Regions from separate parts of the Homo sapiens genome. Here region 2 is linked to region 1. Evidence: promoter capture Hi-C in 16 types of primary human blood cells and fetal thymus (Javierre and others, 2016). All regions are on one chromosome and are shown on one strand. Each heading gives the region's core, a stretch centred on a gene start or on the middle of the fragment in contact. The rest is flanking DNA. Distances are from core to core; before and after follow the strand shown.

Evidence for each region. The method cuts DNA at HindIII sites, captures the fragments that hold promoters and counts their contacts. A CHiCAGO score of 5 or more calls a contact.
Region 2: a fragment that was not itself captured here is called in contact with the fragment with the promoter of TMEM252 in region 1 in 1 of 17 cell types (monocytes); the score reaches 6.1 in monocytes.

Annotation. Positions count from the first base shown.
Region 1 is chr9:68,537,640-68,544,739 of GRCh38, forward strand. It overlaps TMEM252 (transmembrane protein 252), which reads right to left and starts at 3,244. Exons shown (of 2, transcript NM_153237.2): 1 at 2,898-3,244. The coding sequence starts at 3,175. TMEM252-DT (TMEM252 divergent transcript) reads left to right here and starts at 3,386. Exons shown (of 5, transcript NR_187592.1): 1 at 3,386-3,591; 2 at 4,739-5,003. LINC01506 (long intergenic non-protein coding RNA 1506) reads right to left here. Exons shown (of 4, transcript NR_109769.1): 4 at 5,902-5,964. The HindIII fragment of the contact is 3,743 bases long and covers 2,769-6,511 here.
Region 2 is chr9:69,140,862-69,147,427 of GRCh38, forward strand. It overlaps a transcript of TJP2 not described here. Among named protein-coding and RNA genes, the nearest start is that of TJP2, 30 kb to the right of the region's middle. The HindIII fragment of the contact is 3,032 bases long and covers 1,946-4,977 here.

The DNA of each region.
Region 1 (7,100 bases), core at 1,994-4,493:
TCACCAGTTTTTTAAAAATGTGCTGCTCTTCCAAAAGAACCTTTTTATCAGCCACAGGATGCCTGCCTCTAGTCACATTTTTTTCCCAGTGGGTTATGCCAAGCTATTCCTTCTCTATTGCTCATTCACTCATGAAAACAGGGCCATTCAGTGTGAGATCCTTGTCAACATTAGAGGAGGTGGGGGCTTTGGATAGGGAACTTCTCTCTACCGAGTACTTAGTCCATCCACATCCTTGCTCCCTTTCTCGCATGGCATCATCCCCTCAATTGCACTCACTTTCTCTGATCATCACAGCCAACAAAATAATGAATGAAAACCAACTCTGTGCTGATCCCTGAACTATACCAGATGCCATGTCTCTATCCTAACACCCTTTCGAGACTCAGTAGCTAGTTTCAAAGAAAATATACAAACATATTCATTTCTCAAATGATATCAACTGACAACTTTACACAGATTTCAGTTGTAGCCCTTTCTATGCCAGTAGGCTAAAGCAGCCATTCATTCGGGGGCTGATGTACTCATTGGTCATCTTGCCTGGCATTTCTAATTGCTAAATCCTCCTGGCTTCTCCATCATGAATGAATTTGGGGGAAGGGGAGAGGGGAGGAAGAGAGACCGGTGAGCTTGGCTGAGTTGTGTATTTATAGAGTGATCCTTCCAGTGCCTACAGGGAGTGTTTATGGTGTGTAACCACAACAGAACAGGGACTGCCATTTGTAGCCACAACTCCATTCCAAATGTTACCAGGCCCAAAGCCAGTAGCTGAAGAAGCTGTCTACTATAAGGCATAAATCTCAGCCTTCGCTCAGAATAGCCAAGGCTGAGTCACGGGGCACATGTGTAAAGGCATTTTACACAGAAAGGTGAGATGTTCCCTGGAGTGATGTGAAAGGTTCCAGGATGACTGCTGCCTGCCCCAAATCCCAGCTACCTCTCCCAACCCCACCCTCCTTCAACTGCCATCCATATTCCCAGTCCCCTGAATTCCATCATCGGAGACCCATTTGCTTTGATATCTCAACCTGGGTATCCATTTTGAGTGCAAATGCTTTGGAGAAATGTGACTTCCCAGGCTGACTTGCCAGCCATTCTGCGTGGGATAAGCATCTTATTACATGCAGCGAGAAGAGGCAGTAAAATGGGGGTGTTACGATGTCCATAATTTACTTTCAAACATTTCAGTATACTGTAATATTATGCAGTGTTAGTCAATTTAAGCTATATCCTAAAGGCAATCAGTTACATTTATCAGAAATTCACACTCTAGAGGTAGTCCTCTAACATTTATACAAAAAGAAATCATCACTCTAGAGGCATCTTCTACAATCACTTCATTTCTCTTAATTTTTAATCAAACCCAGAAACTCTGCTGGTTAGTATAACATTGGAAATAAGTTTTGGTTTTCATAATTATTATCTTATTAATTAGCATAAAGGATGCCAAAAGTGGATGCTCATGGGTAAGATTACTTATATTCAAGATACATGGAGTAGCTAAAATATTTTAGATACTTTCTACTCTTGCACGAAGAGGGCAAAATAATTATAGTCTTGTAGCCTGTATCTTGAGAATGATGCCTAGGGTGTTATCCCTAAATGGTCCTGTGGCTAGCCAAGAATTAGGAGGTTTCTTGTTGCCTGATACTGACTATAAGATTAACTGAATCTTTTTTTTCTTGTGGTAAAATATATATGACATAAAATTTACTGTTTTTAAGTGTATAGCTCAGTGGCACTAAATACACTCATATTGCTCTACAACCATCACCTTAAAACTCTCTACTCATTAAACAATAGGTCCCCAGTCTCTCCTTCCACCAGCCCCTGGGACCACTGTTCTACTTTCTGTGTCTGTGAATTTGACTACGCTAAGTACTCATGTAAGTGGAATTATACAATATTTGCCCTTTGTAACTGACTTGTTTCACTTAGCATAATGTTTTCAACTTCATCCAAGTGGTGGCATGTGCCAGGATTTCCTTCCTTTTTAAGGCTAATATTCCATTGCATGTATATACCACATTTTGTTTATCTACTCACCTGTTGATGGACATTTGGGCTATTATGAATAAATGTTGCTACAAGCATTGGTGTACAAACATCCATTTGAATCCCTGCTTTCAGTTCCTTTGTGTATAAACTCAGAATGTAGAATTGCCAGATCAAACAGTAATTCAATATTTAATGTATAGAGGAGTCTCCACACTGTTTTCCACAGTGGTTGCACCATTTTAACATTCCCACCAGCAATGCACAGCGTTCCAATTTATTGACATCCTCACCAACACTAGCTGTTTGGTTTTGTTTTTTGATGATAACTATCCTAATGTATGAGATGGCGAGAAAGAATGAATCTTGCCTCTAGAATATTATCACCTTCCCCTGAAGGAATGTTTTATGCAAGGTGAGATCACAACACCTAAAAGGACAGTAAACTGGGACTTTTCTGAGCTCACAGAGATTCCAGGACTCATTTTATGCCTGCTTCTTCATTTGTTGTGTGGCAGAATTTGGTCTGGGACTTGCTTTCCTTAGAACCTCATAGCCAGGTTATGGGAAGTAACTAACCATCACCTGCCACTAATTAATGACAGCTGCCATGATATAACAAAAGAGCCTGGGTTTCTAAATTGGCTTAGGTGGGTTTTCACTGGGGGTGGTGGTAGGGTTTCTCTGAGATGAGTTGCCCCTGCGTCATGGTTTTCCCCAAAGATGGCGCCACTCTTCCTAATAACAACCCCAGAGTAATTCCCTGACAATAAAGCTTTGGTTCTAGACAGACAGCCCATGGGACATGTAAGTCGCTCCATAGTAGGATCAGAAATTACTCAGATCTTACACAACTCAGCCCATCTCAGCCCTTCTTGGTCCCTCTGCCTGTCAGCACGTACCTGTCTACTGTGGCCACGGGCAGGGCCCCATGAGCAAGGTGTTGTCGGAGCATGTGCCTCAACACTCCTTTGCTTTCAGTCACCTGGCGATAGTTGCTCCAGAAAATTCCACTCAGAAGGATCACAAACCCCAGAGGCAGAAGCAAATAGGCCGCAATCAGGCTCCCCTGACAGTCGAATATGGAGCCCCAGGAAATGAAGAAGGCCCCCAGGCAGACCATCAGGAAACCCATCAGGAGGGCAAGAGCACAGAGAATGAGGCCAGTTCTGTTCTGCATCCTTGCACCTTAGGAACCCAGCACCCTGACCCTGCTGCTCCTCTGCTTCCCTGCTTGCTCCAAGAGAATGAGCTCATTAGCCAGCTTGCAGCTTTATATGCTCTGGGACCCACTGGCCTTTGGACAACTAAATGAAACAGGCACTTAGAAGCTATTCATTAACCATTGAAAGTAAGTGTAATATCCTTGGAGAATTAGCCAAAAAACATAGCATTGTATACTGCAGGCAGGAGTGGCTTCGTGTAGCTGTTTTGTTCTTCAGAGTTGGGTGGGACACTCAGCTGTTCCCAGTTATTTGAACGTACAGCCCTCCTTTGATTAAAAGGCGCTGGTCTCTTAATCCCCATGGAGGGCAATTCCCCACTAAAAGCTGGAGAAGTTAGCACTCTTTAAAGAACGATCTTCTTTGAGGTTTGGTAAGAAATCCCTTCCTGATTCCTTCTCCCTTTTTCTGTACTAAAAAGGCATTTCTTCAAGGCTGTTAACATGTTTGTCTTGCCTCCCTCAATGAATCCCCACTTATTGCCCCCACACTATGATACTGGCATAATTCCAAGACAGAAGTTCAGAGTGTGAACTTCGTGGTTCCTGCTCTGTTGACAAGATCGAAAGAGCCTGAGTGGGAGGGAAAGGAGAGTGCTGGAGAAAAGGACTATAATAGACAGAGCCTCGGGAATTTGGGGGGATTTTGGGCCTGTAATTCCTGCAATCTTTCCCCCTTTCATAAAGTACATATGAAATAGAATTCGTTTTAGAGGATGCTGCTAAAAATGTTCCCTGTCCTCTCCTCCACACCTCTGCTCTATGTAGCATTGCCTCAAAAAATCTTTCCAGAACCAGCCTTCTGTTTCCTGGCTGGAATTTGTTTTCTTTAGCTTGACTGTCTTTGATTGTGGATAGCTTATTTCAGACGTGCTTTATGCCCTGGCTCTGCCCTTTTTTATTTGATAATGTGGCATGTCTCTGCCAAAAGTCTCCTTCCCATAGGAACCCTGGGTTGCTTTTACTCAGGATAGCTTATCTTCAGTTCCTCTTTGCTGCTGTTCCACTCCACTACTCCATTACCATTATTTTCCATTTACTTTCCCAATGAGAGCAGCAGTTTTTTGTGGCGTGCCCTAATAATCCCTCATATAACCTTTAGTCTCACACTCACCATCTCCTTAGCTCTACCTTCATGTTAGGGCTGGGAGACACGGATATTAGAGAGGTACACACTATGGATCAAAAACTATATAAGGCACTTCTCCATTCCAACCCTTAGCCTTTACCTTTCTTAGCTTCAATTTCGACCTTGAACTACCTTGATCTTCTAGTCTTGATATTGTCTTTGTAATCTTAAAACAGCTCTTATTCCCTCCTTCCCCAAACTGTGAGATGGAATATTTCTAAGATGATCCCTAAGGATCCCACCTCCTGATATTCATGTCCTTGTGTAAGTAATCCTCTCCCCTGAGTGTAGGCTGGACCTAGTGACTTCATTCTAATCAATAGAATATGGTAACGGTGATCGGAAGTTACTTCCGTGGAGGCTACACAAGATTGTGGTTTTCATCTTTCTAGCAGACTCTCTCTATTGTCCTCTTGGCTTACGCCCTTTGAAGAAGGAAGCTGCCATATTGGAGAGGCCCATGAGGCAAGGAATTGAGGGCAGGTTCTGGCCAACAGTCACTGAAGAACTGAGGCCCTTAGTCCGTCAGCCCATGAGGAACTGCATCCTGTCAATGACCACGTGAGCTTGCAATCAAATCCTCATCCCACTGAGCCTTGAGATGACTCTGCTCCCAAGCATCACCTTGACTCAGTGACCCTGAAGTAGAGGACCCAGGTAAGTCATACTCGGATTCCTGACCCACAGAAACTGTGAGATAAAACGTTTCAGCCAGGGTCCTGGATGCCACAAGATGGCAAGAGCCATAATCAATGAATGCATTATGATCAAATCATTTCATGTTTATGGATGTCACTATTTTAACAAATAAAAGAGGTCAAAAGTTTAAAAAAAGTATATTTTAAAAATATGCTAAGTTTTGTGGCCATTTTTTAGATAGCAGTAGATAACTAAAAAAATTCTCTTAGAACTTTGAAAATCAGAAGAGACAATCAATGTTAAGTATTTATCATAGTACCTGGCACAGAGAGTGCCCTGTGAAGGTTATCTATAATCACCATCACCAATATTGTTATTATCATTGCTGTTACAATTCCAAAAATCTGTGGAAGACCCAGGACCCCCAGCTGAAAGGTCTGCACTAGGAGTTGGGTCCCAGGAACAGGTAGATGGTAAAGCCCCAGGATAATGTTAAGAATCAGGTGATGGAGGAAGAGTACTCTCAATCGGAACTGCCCATCAGACAGTTGGGCTTCTCTGTTTTAGACAAAAATGGAGGCAGAAATTAGACTGGGGATTATGACAGGTCAGGCCTCATTCTTGTGATCACATCAACACATGAGTAAATAAGTTTCTCTATACTTTTTCCTCCTCCATGCCAATAAAGTACACTAGAACCATTGCCTTATAGTTTGTCAGACAGTTCCTTCCCCTCCAGTGCCCTTTGAGGAGGCTCCTGTCATTCCACAGCAGTGTTGTTGTTGTGATGGTGGTGGTGGTATGTTTTTGGTGAGAAATTAGGTATGGAAGAGCAAAATCCAGGAAGTGGCAGGGGGATGGAAGGACTCAGTCCCTTTACATAAAATTTATGTGAAATTAAGAATAGTTCCTGGGCTCAGGGTATTTGAGGAATTTATTTTGGGCATCAAGGGGAAAAGGCTGGGAATATTTGCAGCATCTGTGGGAAGGAGACGAGAAAAGGAAAAAAAATCAATATGGAAATATGAAGTATCACAGGGAACCATATTTCTCCTTCAAAATGACTAAGAAATACTAATGAACACCACACAGTCTATCTGTGTAATAAAACTGTACCTGAAATACCTCCTAAATCTGTACAAATAAAAACAAACAAATTTAAAAGGCAAAAGAGAGAGAAATACTGGTGAAGTTGAGGTTATTTTGTATGTTTATGTTTATTATTAAATATACATTACTAAATAATTATAATTTTTTAAACTGTGACTCTGCTTCAGTTCCTCTTTTTGCCCATCATAAAATTTTATTATGAATAATTAAAACTTTACTCGCTGGTAAGAAATTACCAATGCTTAAAATGGTAATTTTAATTATAAGAAAAATTAGGTTGAAAAGATAGGGTGTTCCCTCGCATTGTCAAATAACATACAATGCCGCAGATAAAAACAGAGATCAGCATCGTTTTTAGGAACTATGCTTCACCCTCAAATTTATTTGTATACCTGGAAATTCAGTTGCCATCATCAAGCTTAGGTTAATTGATTATAAACTGGTTAACACAATTGAGCATCATAGCATCTTGAGACAGTTCTAGTCTGCAAATATAAGCCACCAGTGTACTTTACAGTAATAACACAAAATCAGCATAATACTGTAAGCAAAAGATGCTAAGTTATCATGTGTTATTATGAAGTTATGAAGGTTGTCATTGTTGTGCATACTTTCTTTTTTTCTGAAAATATTTGATCTTTACTTTTTATGTGCTTTGTAATATGTGCTATGAGTGTAGTCATATATATATGGAGATTATATATTAAGCTATATCTATATCAGGGGTATGTGCCCACTCTTTAAACTTTTAAGTTCAGAGGTACATGTGCAGGTTCGTTATATAGGTAAACTTGTGTCGTGGGGGTTTGTTGTACAGATTATTTCATCACCCAGGTATTTAGCCTAGTACCCATTGATTATTTTTCCTGATCCTCTCCCTCCTCCCACCCTCTACCCTCCAATAGGACCCAGTGTCTGTTGGTCCCTTCTTTGTGTCCATGTGTTTTGATCATTTAGCTCCCACTATAAATGGGAACATGCAGTAAATATGTTTTCTGTTCCTGT
Region 2 (6,566 bases), core at 2,212-4,711, 600 kb after region 1:
TTTGGGAGACGGAGTCTCGCTGTCGCCCAGGCTGGAGTGCAGTGGTGCGATCTTGGCTCACTGCCACCTCTGCCTCCCAAGTTCAAGTGATTCTCCTGCCTTAGCTTCCCAGGTAGCTGGGACTACAGGCGTGCACCACCATACCCAGCTAATTTTTGTATTTTTTTAGTAGAGATGGGGTTTCACTATGTGTTGGCCAGGCTGGTCTTGAACTCCTGACCTCAGGTGATCCACCCGCCTCAGCCTCCCAAAGTGCTGGGATTACAGGCGTGAGCCACTGCACCCGGCCTGAAAGTTTTTTATTTCTTAGGACTGAGAGTACTCAGAGAATCCATGAATTATTATATATATGCAAGTTGTTTGGGAAGGGCAGTCAATTAAGTGATTTTAATGTTGGCTTGAACTATTCAGTAGCAGGGGTTAAAAATCTAGGACGTATCACAACCATAAGGGAGGGCCTCCCCAGTTGGCCCACCAGAGCCAGGCCCCTTTCCTCTGCTCCCCCGAGCAGGACCCAGGAGCCTACTTTCCTTTCTTTGTGGTGTTTTCCACCGCCCACTCCAGCCCTTGGGTCCCTGTACCCTCCAGCCAGCCTGTCTTTCAGTCTCACTGTTTTTCCCACAAGGACCACTCTTCCTGAAGAGGCATTAGGAATGGAAAAAGAAGGACAGATGGGAGAGAGGAAGGGAGGGAGGGATGATATCCACCGAATGTATATACATTACGGCATTATTTATTAATTCATTTTGAGACAGAGTCTCACTCTGTCACTCAGGCTGGAGTGTAGTGTCATGATCTTGGCTCACTGCAACCTCCACCTCCTGGTTCAAGCGATTCTTATGCCTCAGCCTCCCGAGTAGCTGGGATTACAGGTGCCCACCACCATGCCCGGCTTTTTTGTATTTTTAGTACAGACAGAGTTTCACCATGTTGGCCAGGCAGGTCTTGAACTCCTGGCCTCATGTGATCCACCCACCTCGGCCTGCCACAGTGCTGGGATTACAGGCGTGAGCCACAGCACCTGGCTGCATTTATTATTTAAAACAAGCCCTGTGTTGTGGTCTTAGTCTAGCTGTACGAATGATGGAACAGAGGTTCAGAAAGGTCAGTAACTTGTTCAAGGTCACCAGGTCTTAAACAGTAGAGGTGGGATTCAAACCAAGTCTTTCCCCTGTGTCATGGGGTTGGTATGACTGGGGACACACAGGAATGGATGAGGGTGTCTTCAAGGTCTCATGCTGGGTGAACCAGGAGGTGGATGCACAGAAGCCGGAAAAGGCAAGGGGCACTGTAGCTGGCGCTGGGCACATGGGTTATTTCCAATAGATACTGGGTTGTGCCAGAGGACAGGATTGGAACGATAAATTTGATGACATCCAGTTGAAGGTAATAGTTTAAACCTAGTAGTGAATATGTTCTGAGGATGAATGACTCTGAGGAGAGAAGGCTAGTTTGGGCTGAGCAGGTGAGTCTAAAAGAGCCACACTAAACTTTATTAACTCTTTGGTAATTCTTTTACATCACGTAATCTGCTTTTCTTACAGTGTATTGGTGGGGCATCTGAGTAGCAAATATGTAAAGATATTATTTATGAGCATATTAAGGAGGAGAGAAATGAAATGCTTTTTTCAGTAGAGCTAAAAAAGCAAAAACAAAAAAATTGCTGTTTCCCTAACTCTTCTACTTTTAGTTAAAGCTTTTTTCAGCTCCTGAAAAGCAGACCACACCCTATAAAACAGACTGTACAGGGCATTAGTTCATTTCCCTTTTTATACTTCCAAAGCACAGTAACTGTTAAAACACCCAGTGAAGAAGCATGGCCACTGTCTTTCTCCAGAAGAAATAAAGTAGAAATATTAGTTGAAAGGAAATGTCAGTCTGATCTGTGAAGTTTTATGTTCAATTTTAATCATCCAGAAAGAAAACTTGAGCATCCTGACTTAAAAGCTTTTTTTGGATCATGTATATTTAAAAACACTTTTAATAGATAAATGATTTTTAGTTAATAGTTCCAGTTATAAACAATTTCTAGAATTGTAAGGGAATTAACCCAATATATGCATATTTCTAAATAATTTCTAGAATTATGAAGTGTCATATCTGGAAGGGGTATTTTGGCTAGATTTGTTATTTCCTGTGTTATTAACCTTATGTATAATTATGAGAGATTCCACACAAAGATGACAATTTTAAAAAATGAATAAATAAATTAGCAAGTTGAACAGTCTGATTTATGGAAGAAAAGCAAATTCTTTCTAATATTTGCTAAGGCAGAATTATTTTCCTAATGAAAGACACAATTTTAATTTTATGTGAAATCATCATAGATAAGAATCACTTTGTAAGAGCTGCATGTTAAATGCATCGAAAATTCCAATAAAAAATGAAACTTTAAAACATCCCATTTGCAAAATATCATGTCACTTTTCACTGCAGGAGAACAGCTTCCAATGGGTAACAAGTTTAAGTTGATTTTTTCTTGTTGTTAGCTCAGGCTTTGTTACTTATTTAGAGTGTTGTATAGTAATTTTTATCATGCGTCATCAGAAATACAATTTGTTAGAACAATGACTGTTGTGTGAGTGTAATTACATCTTCCTGTATGATTAAATGAGGGCTGTATGGGACCTTTACTCAGAGGTGGCAGCTGTAGCCAACCAAGTTCAGCCTATAAAAGAATTCCTGGGACTAACTGGTACTAATTGTTTGCAGAACAACCAGTGGGAGTAATATTCATGAATACTATGGAAATGAAATATTCCAAGACCAAATGCTTTAGCCCTTGTTTTTTACTTTATTGTGGTCAGATTATATTAATTGCATAATCAGGCCAAGTGAAGTGGGAGCTCTTGGTCTTTTGTTGTTTTTGGAAGAAAACTTAGCCTTCATCTATTCAGTCCTCTCATCTTATAAACAGGGAAATTGAGGCTTAGGGAGTAGTTGAAGGGTTATTTAAAGTCACCAAACTGTAATATACCCTGTCAGAGTTTTAAGTACACTCATATACCCCTGTCAGATTTTTAAGTACACTCTACCGTATACATGAGTATATTAGTTTGTAAATAGTGTACCTTATTACAATTTAAAAGATATTAGTTCTCAAGGTAAATATTATGAATATTCAAAACACAAACATTCAATTTTATTTTTTATTTTTTTGAGACAGAGTCTCTCTCTGTCACCCAGGCTGGAATAAAATGACACGATTATAGCTTACTGCAGCCTCGAACTTGTGGGCTCAAGTGATCCTCCTGCCTCAGCCTCCTAAAGTGCTAGGAGTACAGATGTGAGCCACGTGCCCAGCAACACTCAAATTTTTAAAGCATGAGAGAAGAAAAGAGGAAATAGATGGCATAATACTTTCTTCCCACATCCCAAAGATTGTTGGTATGTGCACCTCACTTTGGAGATTTAGGTCATTTAGGTCAAAAGAAACTTGCTATTGAGGAAAGAGAATCTGTAGAAGTAGGGTTTAAGATTTGCGGGGATGGGGAAGGGTTTGGGACACTCACTTTGGACATCTAGGTTAATCAGAGTTACTGCATAATGGCTCCCCTTCTATTTTGCTTCCCTTTATGTATGGGTTTGTTTAGACAAGGAGCAGCATGACTCTTGTATGTTGCCATAGCACATCAAATAGGAAAAAAAAATAGCTTGAAGAAGTTGGTGAGGAAGGAGCTATTTAAGTCAGAACTCTCAGAGTGACAAACTCAACTAAAATTAAATTTCACAAAAGTCAATTTATTAGCTTTCATAAACGATAACTGTAATCTCCTAGGGTGACAGTGGCCTCCGGCATAGCTGGATCCAGAAGCTCGAGTGATGTCATGACATTTTTCTTGGTACTGTTTTTCTCAACTATTGTAATACTAGTGAAGAGCCCTCTCCATGTGGCGGGGCACATGACTACTATCAAGAGCTCCAACTTCCTATCAGCCCTGGTTAGCAAATCCAATGGAAACAGGACATTTCCCTCCTACAGTCATCTGTTCACCCCAGGGAAGACTGGTTGACCCAGTATGTGGATCATGTGTACCATGGCCCATTGAGTGGGCCACCATGATAGGTGGTCCACCTTTACCCATGGACAAAGGGTAAGGAAGCTCTTCAAAGCCAAGAGGAGACTTAAAGAAAATGGAGATGAGGTAGATTCTGAACCTCTCCAAACGATATATTTTCATGATGGCAGGGATCACACATGTTGGGTTCTAGAGGTATTTAAAAAGTTGTTTTTAATAATAATTTTAAAAACCCACCAAATTGTTTCTTAATTAATTAATCTTTGCTATTGACCCAAGCAAGGAGTTTATAGTGCTTAGAAATGCATTGCTATAAAATGACAACTAGAATTCCTTCCTCACTTGTCAAAGCACAGGCTTTTAGAGAGAGAGATATTTGTAGAAAGAGCAAATCTGTTTCTGATTTTAGTTCATCCAGTGGCAGGCAGGCTTTTTGGACCAATTATTACCAGACCTTGAGATAAATCACCTCATGAGCCATTAGTTCTTGAAGGATTAGCGGCCTCAAAGATTTATGTGCGGATTAATTGGAGTGTACATTAGATCGCCGTGTTTAAAACCGCAGTCATTCCTGCAAATCATTTTCATTAGTGCTTTATTCAGAATTATTTAGCCTTGTATAATACTGCCATTGCAGGGAAATCTGAAAGACGTTCTCTTTATTTGTGGTCTGCCCCCCCATCACCACGGTTGTGTTTAATAGATCTAGCTAGGGCTACATAGAGAACATCCAAAGGAACAGCAGCTTCCATTAAAGATTAGTTCAGTTGCTTCAGGTGAACAGTGACTGAAATTTACAGGACCTTGTACCGAGAGAGACAAGATGAGGTACAAGAAATATATCGGTATTCTGGAAGCAGCAGTTGGTATTACCCCACTTAACAAAAGAGAACTTCTACCTGAGAGCAGAAGACACGTGAACCTTTGGCAACAACCTGGGTAAGCAGAGGAGGCTGGAAGCTTCTCACTATAGATGTAAATACTTTTTGTCTGTTTTGGGGACCCATATAGAAAAAAGGGTCCTCTGTCTTGTGGGGATAATAAATGAGTTCTTCATTAAGAACTTGTTTCTTCTTGGTGGAGAATGGAACTCCTAGACTGATTTAAAAATAGGAATGAAATTGTTGGATAATATTCTAATACCCAAGAAGATGAATAATGGGTGTGTCTAGAGCCCATTTTTACAATCTAGACATTTAATTTTCTGATTTTGAAAATGTTTTTTTAACATGGTTTACAAATGTAGCAATTCTTAAGAATGAAGAAAATATGCCTTATTACTATAATGTTTTTCAACAATACAAGTGTTTTTCTGATTAAAGTGTATGTGCAGACTATGCTTCGGGGAAATACTTTGCTTGAAACAGCAGTTTTCCTTCCACATCTCTTTCTGCAGCCCCACTGATTTACCATGATGAAGAAAGGTTGAGAAGTTCTTTATGCATAGCTACAAGCCTTAGTTCTAACTTTCTTCTCTGAAGTCTTCTTTTGTGCTTCTTACACATTAAAGACAAGGTGAATTTAAGGTGCCTTTATGGTAGACGATATTTTTAGGGCCTGAATTTAATTTTCAAACTGAATGAGTCACACAGTAGCATGTACTGATCAACTTGCATCTGTGTAGCAAATATTTCTTTTTAACAATTAGATAGTTACTAGCTTATTTTTATCATATGAGCAATGTACATTCATTATAGAAGATTTAGAAAATACAGAAAAATAAGGGGGAAAATTACCCATTGTCCTATCTCCCCAAGAGAACTACTAGAATCGTTTAGGTCAGTGGTTGTCAACGGGGAGGTGGAAATAGGGAATTTTGCTCCCCAGGGGACAATTGTCAATGTCTGGGGCATTTTTTTTGTTGTTATAGCCCAGGGGTTGCTATTGGCATCTAGTTGGTAGAGTCTGGGGATACTGCCCAACATCCCACAAGGTACAGGACAGCCCCCTGCAACAACGAATTATCCAGCCCACAGTGTCAACGGTGCCACTGGTGAGACATTTGATTTAGATAGGTTTTCTTCCCATCTGTAAAAGGGTACATTTTATTAGAAAAAAATAAATATTTCTTTGGGAAATCTTAGAGATGCTTTAGAATGGAATTCTGAGGCAACATTTTAATTATATTATTGTTATTCTACTGTTATTGTCTTGAAAGTAAATGGAAGTGTGTATATGCGTGGAGAGGGCAGGGGGCATACAGAGACTCTATCAGAGTCCATGTAGGTTAATGCTGTTCAGCCAGGGCTGTGGAAAACATTGTAATGACTAAACTGAGATTCTCCAAGTAGCCTCTCGTGATTGGGCATGCGGTAGCCTAGACCTTAGTCTCAGAATGACGAAAGTTTAGAACTGGGAGGACCTTTGCCAGGGATGGCAAACAGGTTTCATGTGGAAGACAGGTGCCAGTTGATGGTTGGCTGCTTGGAGTATCTAGCTAGGAGGACCTGGAGGCCAAACCTGGGCTTAGCGGGAAAGGAATATCGCAACTGATTAGGGATGTTTGTTCTGAACCTATGATTAGGGAATTGGGGAGATGCAAGCCGT